Linked DNA regions of Homo sapiens: region 2 is linked to region 1. Evidence: promoter capture Hi-C in human tissues and cell types (Jung and others, 2019). All regions are on one chromosome and are shown on one strand. Each heading gives the region's core, a stretch centred on a gene start or on the middle of the fragment in contact. The rest is flanking DNA. Distances are from core to core; before and after follow the strand shown.

Region 1 (3,904 bases), core at 265-2,764:
TGTTAGCTAGGACGGTCTCGATCTTCTGACCTCGTGATCCGCCCACCTCGGCCTCCCAAAGTGCTGGGATTACAGGCGTGAGCCACCGTGCCCAGCCAAAAGCCAAGGTCTTATAATGGCCCACCAGGCACTACACAGAACTCCCCCCAACCTCTCAGAGTTCATCTCCTGCCTCGGCCCCTCTCCTTCGCTCCACCCAGCCCCTCTGGCCTCTGCCATTTCTCCATCCCACCCAGTGTGCTCTAACCCCAGAGCCTTCGCACTTGTGGTGTTCTCTGCCTGGGATACTCCTCCCCCAGAGATATCCTCATGGCTCCCCCTTAGTTTCTTCAAGTCTAATGCCACCTCCGTGAGGCCATCCCTGACTGCTCCATTTTAAATGGCAACACTTGCTCAGGCTGAAGTGCGTTCACTGCTCACTGCAGCCTCCACCTTCTGGGCTCAAGCAATCATCCTGCCTCAGCCTCCTGAGTAGCTGGGATTACAGGCATGAGCCACCCGCCTGTCCCAACTCTTTATGTTCCTCACTGAACCCTTCCCTGTTTCTTCAAATAGCCATTTTTACAGTCTAGTTTACTATTTTATTTTGCTTATTTTTCCCCCAAACTGGAATGTAAGCTCTCTCAAGCCAGGAATTTTGTTTTTTTAGCTCACAATTCTATCTCTGGCACCTAAAGCAGCGCCCAGCACATAGTAGGTGATCACTAGACAGTTGATTCACTGAGAGAACACAGAGGGACACCTCCCTAGGTCTCAGTCTAGGTGGCCAAGACAGGAGGCCCCACCAGTGACTGTGCCTTCCCCTCAGGGGGTCCGAGAGCTGGCGTGTGAGAGTGGCAGCCCCTGCCTGGCTCCGCTCAGCCATCTAGGGCACCCCTGGCAGGTGCTGTGCCTTGCCTGGGATGGAGGAGTCTCCGTCCACCTCTGGCTGGGTAGGGGCTAAGGCTGCGGGGCAGAGGGGCATCTGCTAAGGGGCACAGGCCAACCGGGCCCCAGGGAACCGCTGGCCACCTGAGATGGCAGGACAAACTCGGGCAGGCCTCCCCCCACCCCTCACACCTGGCTCACTGGTCCCACCGGGCGGTGACCTTCCCCAGGGTCACTGCCCTTTCTTGGCCCTACTCCTGGGGATCCAACCCGCTCCCAGGCTGTCGCTAGCTCCCTCCCGATCCTCTCCCTCCCCTTCATCCTGCCCAGACCCCTACCCCACCAGACCCCTCACCCGCCCTTGGTCAGATCTCTCTCCTACCCCGCTCCCCCACCCCCATCCCCACTTCCCCTCGGTCTTCACCCCGCCCCAGACACCCCCAGTCCCTCTCCCTGTCCTCCATGCCCACCCCGCCTTTCCTCCCTCGGGCCCCTGTCTCCCGCCCTAGCCCCCGCCCCTGCCCCAGCCCTGGCTCCGGCCCCGGTCAGTGCTGCGGCTCCGGCCCTGGCCGGCAGGGGCCGCTCCTCGCGGCGCCCGGGGCCCCGCCGCGCCCGCCGCCGCCGCCCGCCTCCCCGCCCCTTCCCCAGCCGGCGCTCCCGTTACGCCGCGGAGCCGGGAGCCGGAGCCCGAGCCCGCGGCGGCGGCGGGAGGCGGCGAGGGGGCGCCGCGGCGGCGGCGGTGGGGCCTGCGGGGCGGGCGGCCGGGCCCGGCCAGGCCGCGATGGCGACCAAGAAGGCAGGCTCGCGGCTGGAGACGGAGATCGAGCGCTGCCGCTCCGAGTGCCAGTGGGAGCGGATCCCTGAGCTCGTCAAGCAGCTGTCGGCCAAGCTCATCGCCAACGGTACGCTCCGGGCGCGCCGGCCTGGGCTGCGGGGGGCGCCGCGGCCTCCGCGGGAACGGGCCCCCGAGGCGCGGCCGGGCGCGGGGCGCGGGCAGGGGCGCGGCCGGGCCGCGAGGGAGCTGCGGCCCAGGGGATGTGCGCGGGACCGGGGCCTGGGGGAGCCCGGGTGCCCCGGAGTCACGCGGTGTGGGGGCCCGGGGGGGCGCCAGGGGCTGTCCCGGCGCCTGGGGTTCAAGCGTGCAGGGCGGGCTTCTGCGGAGTCTGGGGTGTCCGGGGGTCTCAGCGAGTCCGCTGCTCCACTGGGACCACAGGAGGTCAGGGGCCGGCCTGGGGCTTCCAAGAAGTTGGAGGTGATGGGGTGAGGGGGTCCCTCAGGACATGGGTGAAGTCCACAGTGTGTGTATGGTGTGCTCAGGGAATCAGGATGTGTTTATGGGGTCTTGAGAATGGGGTGTTGTACATAGACCCCTGGGGAATCTGGTTTGTAAACATATGGTGTTTAAGGGGTTCTGGGTGGAAGCGCAGACTCGAGGTGTGTGGGGTGGTGGTAGAAAGCAGGCTGGGATGTGCGTCCTGGCGTTCGGAGAAGTAGCATCAAGGCTGCCGACCTAGAGAGGTCAGGGTTGGGAATAGAGGAGAAATAGAGTCAGGGGGACCTGGAGGGAGAATATTGTGGAGCGAGATGGGAATGTGGTTGAAGAATGTCGGGAGATGGAGTTGGGTGGGTGAGGGGTTGGTGCCTGGGCCAGAAGGGGGTCTGAGGCAGCCTCTGAGTAGGAGCCTGGTGCCTGGAGTTGGTTCATGACCCCTTTAACTGGATTGGTTCTTGTACCCAATCAAATAAAATTGCATCCAGAATCCCATTCCAGTGCACAGCTCCACGTGGCCTTATTTGTTTTGGAAGCGAGTATCTTTAATATTTGCTTGTCTTTTAGTACCCGCCTAAAGCGCAGGCACCAGCACACCGTGGCCAGAGGGCAGAGGGTTTGTCTCATTTCATCCTGGGCTTCCCCAGGCCCAGTGAGCACATGTTGGCTGAACAAATGAATGAAAGAGTGAATGAATGGATGGCGGGGCTGCTCTAAGAAAGGACATCTGCACTATTTTCAACCTTCTCACTTCAGACTACCCAGAAAGGAGAGGGATGTCAGGTGTCCTCCTGGAGGGTGGTTTATGTTTGTGTCCTATGGTATTAGTGCCTGGAAATTAGAACTTGGTTTTGCGCACTCTCAATGATGGATGCATGCTGTGGGCAGGTACCTTCTGGGTGAACGCAGGTGCCATGGTGTGTCAGGGGCATGGAGATAGCACCGACCCTACACGGGCTCCACTTGGTGGAAAATGTGGACCCTTCTCAGTTATGTCAGCCTTTGAGGAGATGGTGTTCAGTGCCCTGGGCCCCAGAGGCAGCTTGCCTTTGCCCTCCGTGTCGGGCTCACCTGCTTCTCCGCTTACCTGCAGCATTTTCTCTTTTCCTCTCGGAGTTGCACAGTCCTGGGTCTACTTTGTGGCTTCCCAGCGGTGTAGGCATAATGACACCTTCTGTGCAGGTTGATTTTAGGATTAAATGGGTTTATTTGTGAGCCTCCTGGTCTTTTTTCTTCTGAATCCACTTGTTTCCTGCTGTCTTTGCTTATTCATTCACCCAATATTTGCGTGCCCACCTGTGCCAGTCACAGAACAGTGGTGAACAGCACTGACCAAGCCCCTGCCCTTATGCCCTCACCCTGCTCTCAGGAGGCAGGTGATAAGCAAATATGGAAATAAATAAACAGCACAGCTTCAGATAGTGAGAAGTGATTGAAACAAAACAGATGAGTTAATGTGATTGAGAATGACAGGCAGATGAAGGGGGACTCAAGCTATGATGGTCCCTGGAATGAGAGGGTAGATGGGTTTTTGGTGGCCTGGGCCCTTCCTATTCACCTTCATGGCCCCCGAAAGGCTTAGCTCTCTTCCCAGGGGCTGCTCCCAATGTCCTAAGATGCAGTCATGAGTGGGGCTTGGGGATCGGGGTTTGCGGGGGCACTGTGGTCCATGGGTCTGTGTGCAAGTTCAGTTTGGGGAAACTCATGGGACATAGATTTTTGTCCTAGAGACTCACATGGTGAGTGGTAGCCATTGATGGCAAAAAG
Region 2 (4,069 bases), core at 1,380-3,879, 830 kb after region 1:
AAGGTATAAGCCTATCATAAGCACCCCAAATTGATAAGCTGACACATACTTTGTTTCAGAGAGATCGTGCTTGTGAATGACATCTATCCACTCCTTGAGAGAAGGGGCATTATAAGCCATCAAGTAACTGATGAGATCAGCTTTAAAATGTGTTGGCGACTCTCCAGATTTGTGGGTTCCATCAGCAATTCGTGGGTATAAGGGGCTCAACCATATTCTGGAATTAAAAAAATAACCTTTAACAGTCAGGCACACAACTGATCATAATGATCTCTGTATCGATTATGCCTTCATCCTAAGAAAGAGGTGAATTCTCGGTATCTCCACATGGTAAGTAATCTTAGGAAACATGAAACATAAATCTGAGAACACCACTCCAATGGTTTCTCATCACATTCAGAATTATTCCTGAATGTCTTGCCATGAATTTAAGATTCAGTAAGACCTGGGCTCTGCCCACCTCTTCCAACCCACATCCCTCCATGCTCCCTCTCACTTGCCAAACCTTCCTTATTGCTCCTCTTACCTCTGCACCTATATATTGCTTTCTAAGACTTGATGACAAGAGTTAAGAATTCTACTCTTAACGGTTAAAGCAAATCCATGCTACTAGTGGTAATCCCAAGCAAGAATTTGCCCTTGTCTGCATCAATGCAGCTCTTCAGCCAAATGTGAAATAAGAATTGTGTTATCTATACCAAAAGTGCATGTGAAAAATCTATTTTCAATTAACAAACCCATTTTCATAACGTAGGTCCTATAGCAGCATATTTTTATGTCTTATACTTTCTGGTGCCTGGATTAAGTATATATCACATTCAGTGACATTACAATAACCTCAAACTTTCAACACTTAATTCACTGAAGAAGCATTACAGACATCTTTCATTTCATTAATTCTTTTTCCCTAGAGGAAAACAATGCTCTTTGCCAAAACTTCTACATTATATCCATAAATAGAAAACAATCATATCTAATCCCAATCCTTCTATAAACTGCTCCACAGTAGATTACTAAAATGGCTTCAAACCTCTTGTGCTTCAGTTTCTTCAAATGCAAAAAAGTGGGGTTAACAAGGCTGCCTCACTGGGCTGTTGCAAAGCAATGACTTACAGGAGCAGTCAAAAGTATCAGGTGTTACTTTTTTCCCCTTCTGTGGCTACTCTCCTTTTCCCCACCCTGGGTTCTATCTATTAAGCTGAAAGAGAAACTGCCCAATTTCTCTTTCACCTGGCAGCCCCTGAAGGAGACTGGCAAGATGCAGGCCACCAGGGCAGAAGGCATCCAGAACTGCAAGGACTCTCGGCCGTACATCTTCTCAACTCTGCAAGTTTCTAGCAAGGGGCATTTCATACCCCTGCTTCCCACCCTGGGGAGACACTTAGCACAGGAGGTAGCATGGTGTGATGAGGGCTGGAGCCCATGTTCTGGACCCAGATCGACTAGCTGACTATACCATTTTGGGTAAGCTCTGTGATCTCTCTGGGCCTTTGCCTCCGTGTGTAAAATGACCAGGTTGGGCTGGACAGACGTGGAGGACCTCCCCTTGCAATAGCACCTCAAAGTTCCCAGGCTGAGTGAGGCTCCTCCTGGATCAGAGATTCACTCACAGGTGAGTTCTGGATGAGAAACAAGACAAATGACTTTCTAAACTAAGATGCTGAGATATGAGGCATTTTTAACACATCACAAAATGAGAAAATTATTATAATGAGCCAAATAATTTTATTTTATTCTTTACTGTGAGCTTTGGATGCAACTCTTGTTCTAATTTTAAAAAGTGAGAAATCAACAGGTGGATCATGAGGCAGCTGAAGGGGATTAGCAGAACCACAGTAGACCAATTATGAAGTGAGATTGTATACAAAAACTGCTTTCAAAAGTTTTAAAATTACCACAAATAACATGAAATGCAAAACATTAGAGAGTAGAATATAGGCCAAGCATGAAATAATAGGATCCCACACCAGGATGGCTGCCAGAGGAAGATTTCATAGTCTTGGTACTTTCTGAGTTTTGAACCGTTCCTACCTAGTCAATAAGTTTTCCAAAATTTTAAATTAAAAAATACTTTTTTTAAATAAAAGAAACACCCAAGCCCTTATCCCTGCCTCTTCCCTCCTGGCAACCACCCCAGAGAATCCCAAGACAGTACTACTGCCTGTAAGCTAAGCTTCCAACTTCAGAAGGAGCTGGAGGCCCAGGGTGGGATTCTTGGAACCACGTGAGGCTGAGAGCTAACCTGAGAAATCCCTTTAGTAACATTGTTTCATGAGAACAAGCTACATTAATCTCATTGCCTTTTGATAGGGCCACATGAATCCCCAAACCCAATCTGGCAGCTCAGGAGAACTGGCTTAGAAGCTCTTGGGGTACCAAAGGCATAGTTAACCATAAATTCAGTAGATCAAGAAAGTGCTACAGCTGAGACTTAGAGACCAAGCAGCTATCCCCTCAACCCTGGACCAGTCAGAGCCACACTTCATTTTGAAAAGCATATTTTCAGTGGGATACTGAAAAATTATAACATGTTTATAGAAAAGCGACCAGGAATTACAGCTAGGGGTCTCAAAGCCACATGCTATGGTGGGGCAAGGGAGTGGGGAGGGAACAAGAGATGTAAGGCTCAGAAACAAGACTCCCTTTCAAACTCTGAAGGACTGCTTTAAGGGAGGGAGATTACATTTGTCCTGCGCAGTGCACTCAGGTTGAAGCAAGACCTGTTGAAGGAAACTGGAAAGCTATTTCAGCTCAAACTAAGATGTAACTTGGGGCCAGGCACGGTGGTTCATGCCTGTAATCTCAGCACTTTGGGAGGCTGAGGCAGGCGGATCACTTGGCAACTAGGCAAAACCTTGTCTCTACAAAAAATAAAGACAGTTAGCCAAGTGTGGTGGTACGTGCCTGCAGTCCCAGTTACCCAGAAGGCTGAGGTGGGAGGATCACCTGAGCCCAGGAGGTTGAGGTTAAAGTGAGCCGTGATCGCATCACAGCATTGTAACCTGGGTGACAGAGTGAGACCGTCTCAAAAAAACAAACAAAACAAAGATGTAACCTGGGCTCAGCAGAGCTTAGCTGAAAGTAATACACTCCAAATTAGGAGTTCTAGCCCAAGCTAGGCAATGATATGGGGCAGGGTGAGGCAGAGGAGGATGACAGAGAAAACGTGAACCTGGAAATGGTGCTAGACAAACGTCCGAGTTTCTCCCAACACAGAAGGCTGTTTGTTAACCAGCTCTTCTCTAGCACAGGCAGAGATGTACAAAATGGCTTAAACAAAAGAAAATTAAAGTTAGTCATAATCAAGAACAATAGCTGAACTTGTTGAGCAAATCCCTAAAGCTCCCTTTTAAAAAGCAAACCCCTCTTGAAAAGGGGATCAAAACCTGGATCTAGCATATGTGCACCAAGTACAGAGGGTTAGTAGTTTAAAAAGTTCATAAAAGCTTTCGTATTCAGTTCTTCTCTTGGAGATTCACAACTTTATTAACACACTAAAGGCTCTAAAAAGACACCAGCTTAAATTTGTTTCAAAGAAAATACACCAACTGGGGGAGTGGGGAAATATTTAGCACACTATTAACATGACCAGGCCCTACCCCAACTTTTCCTTTGATTCCTGTTTGGGAAGTGGTAAGCAAAAATACAGGTGGGTACATGAGTAAGGAGAAATCACAAAAGCTATCTGGTAAATCCTACTAGGAAAACAATAGGTTCAGATCTTTCATTCTGTAACCCCTTTTCTGCCTCAGATCTCTGCATGTGCTGTGCCCTCTACTTAGCTGTAGAGTGTATATGATGCCACTTCTCTAAAAACTAGGAAGAGACTACTGTGTGTAAATAGTAATGTATGTTTACATGTACAGCAGAGGTAGCTGTGGATGATGATGCTCCTGTTAACACTGGTTACCCCAAGAAGGTAGAATGGGGCAGGTAGTAAAAGAATACAGTAACTTTTTCTGCATACAACTCTTTTTCTAGGCCATGTGTGTTATTTTTACAACTTAAAAAAAAAATAGAAAAAAGAATAAAGTGAATGTTCTGGCTTTTGACCTTTATCAACACACAC

Evidence for each region. Contacts are between HindIII fragments. The study calls those that stand out against the background at their distance.
Region 2: a fragment that was not itself captured here is called in contact with the fragment with the promoter of TTC7B in region 1 in 1 of the 25 tissues and cell types used here (dorsolateral prefrontal cortex).

The regions. Positions count from the first base shown.
Region 1 is chr14:90,814,040-90,817,943 of GRCh38, reverse strand. TTC7B (tetratricopeptide repeat domain 7B) reads left to right here and starts at 1,514. Exons shown (of 20, transcript NM_001010854.2): 1 at 1,514-1,769. The coding sequence starts at 1,649. RefSeq lists a silencer at 1,341-1,520. The HindIII fragment of the contact is 18,929 bases long and covers 1-3,904 here.
Region 2 is chr14:89,980,664-89,984,732 of GRCh38, reverse strand. It overlaps TDP1 (tyrosyl-DNA phosphodiesterase 1), which reads right to left. Exons shown (of 17, transcript NM_018319.4): 9 at 50-217. Among named protein-coding and RNA genes, the nearest start is that of TDP1, 27 kb to the right of the region's middle. The HindIII fragment of the contact is 3,146 bases long and covers 1,057-4,069 here.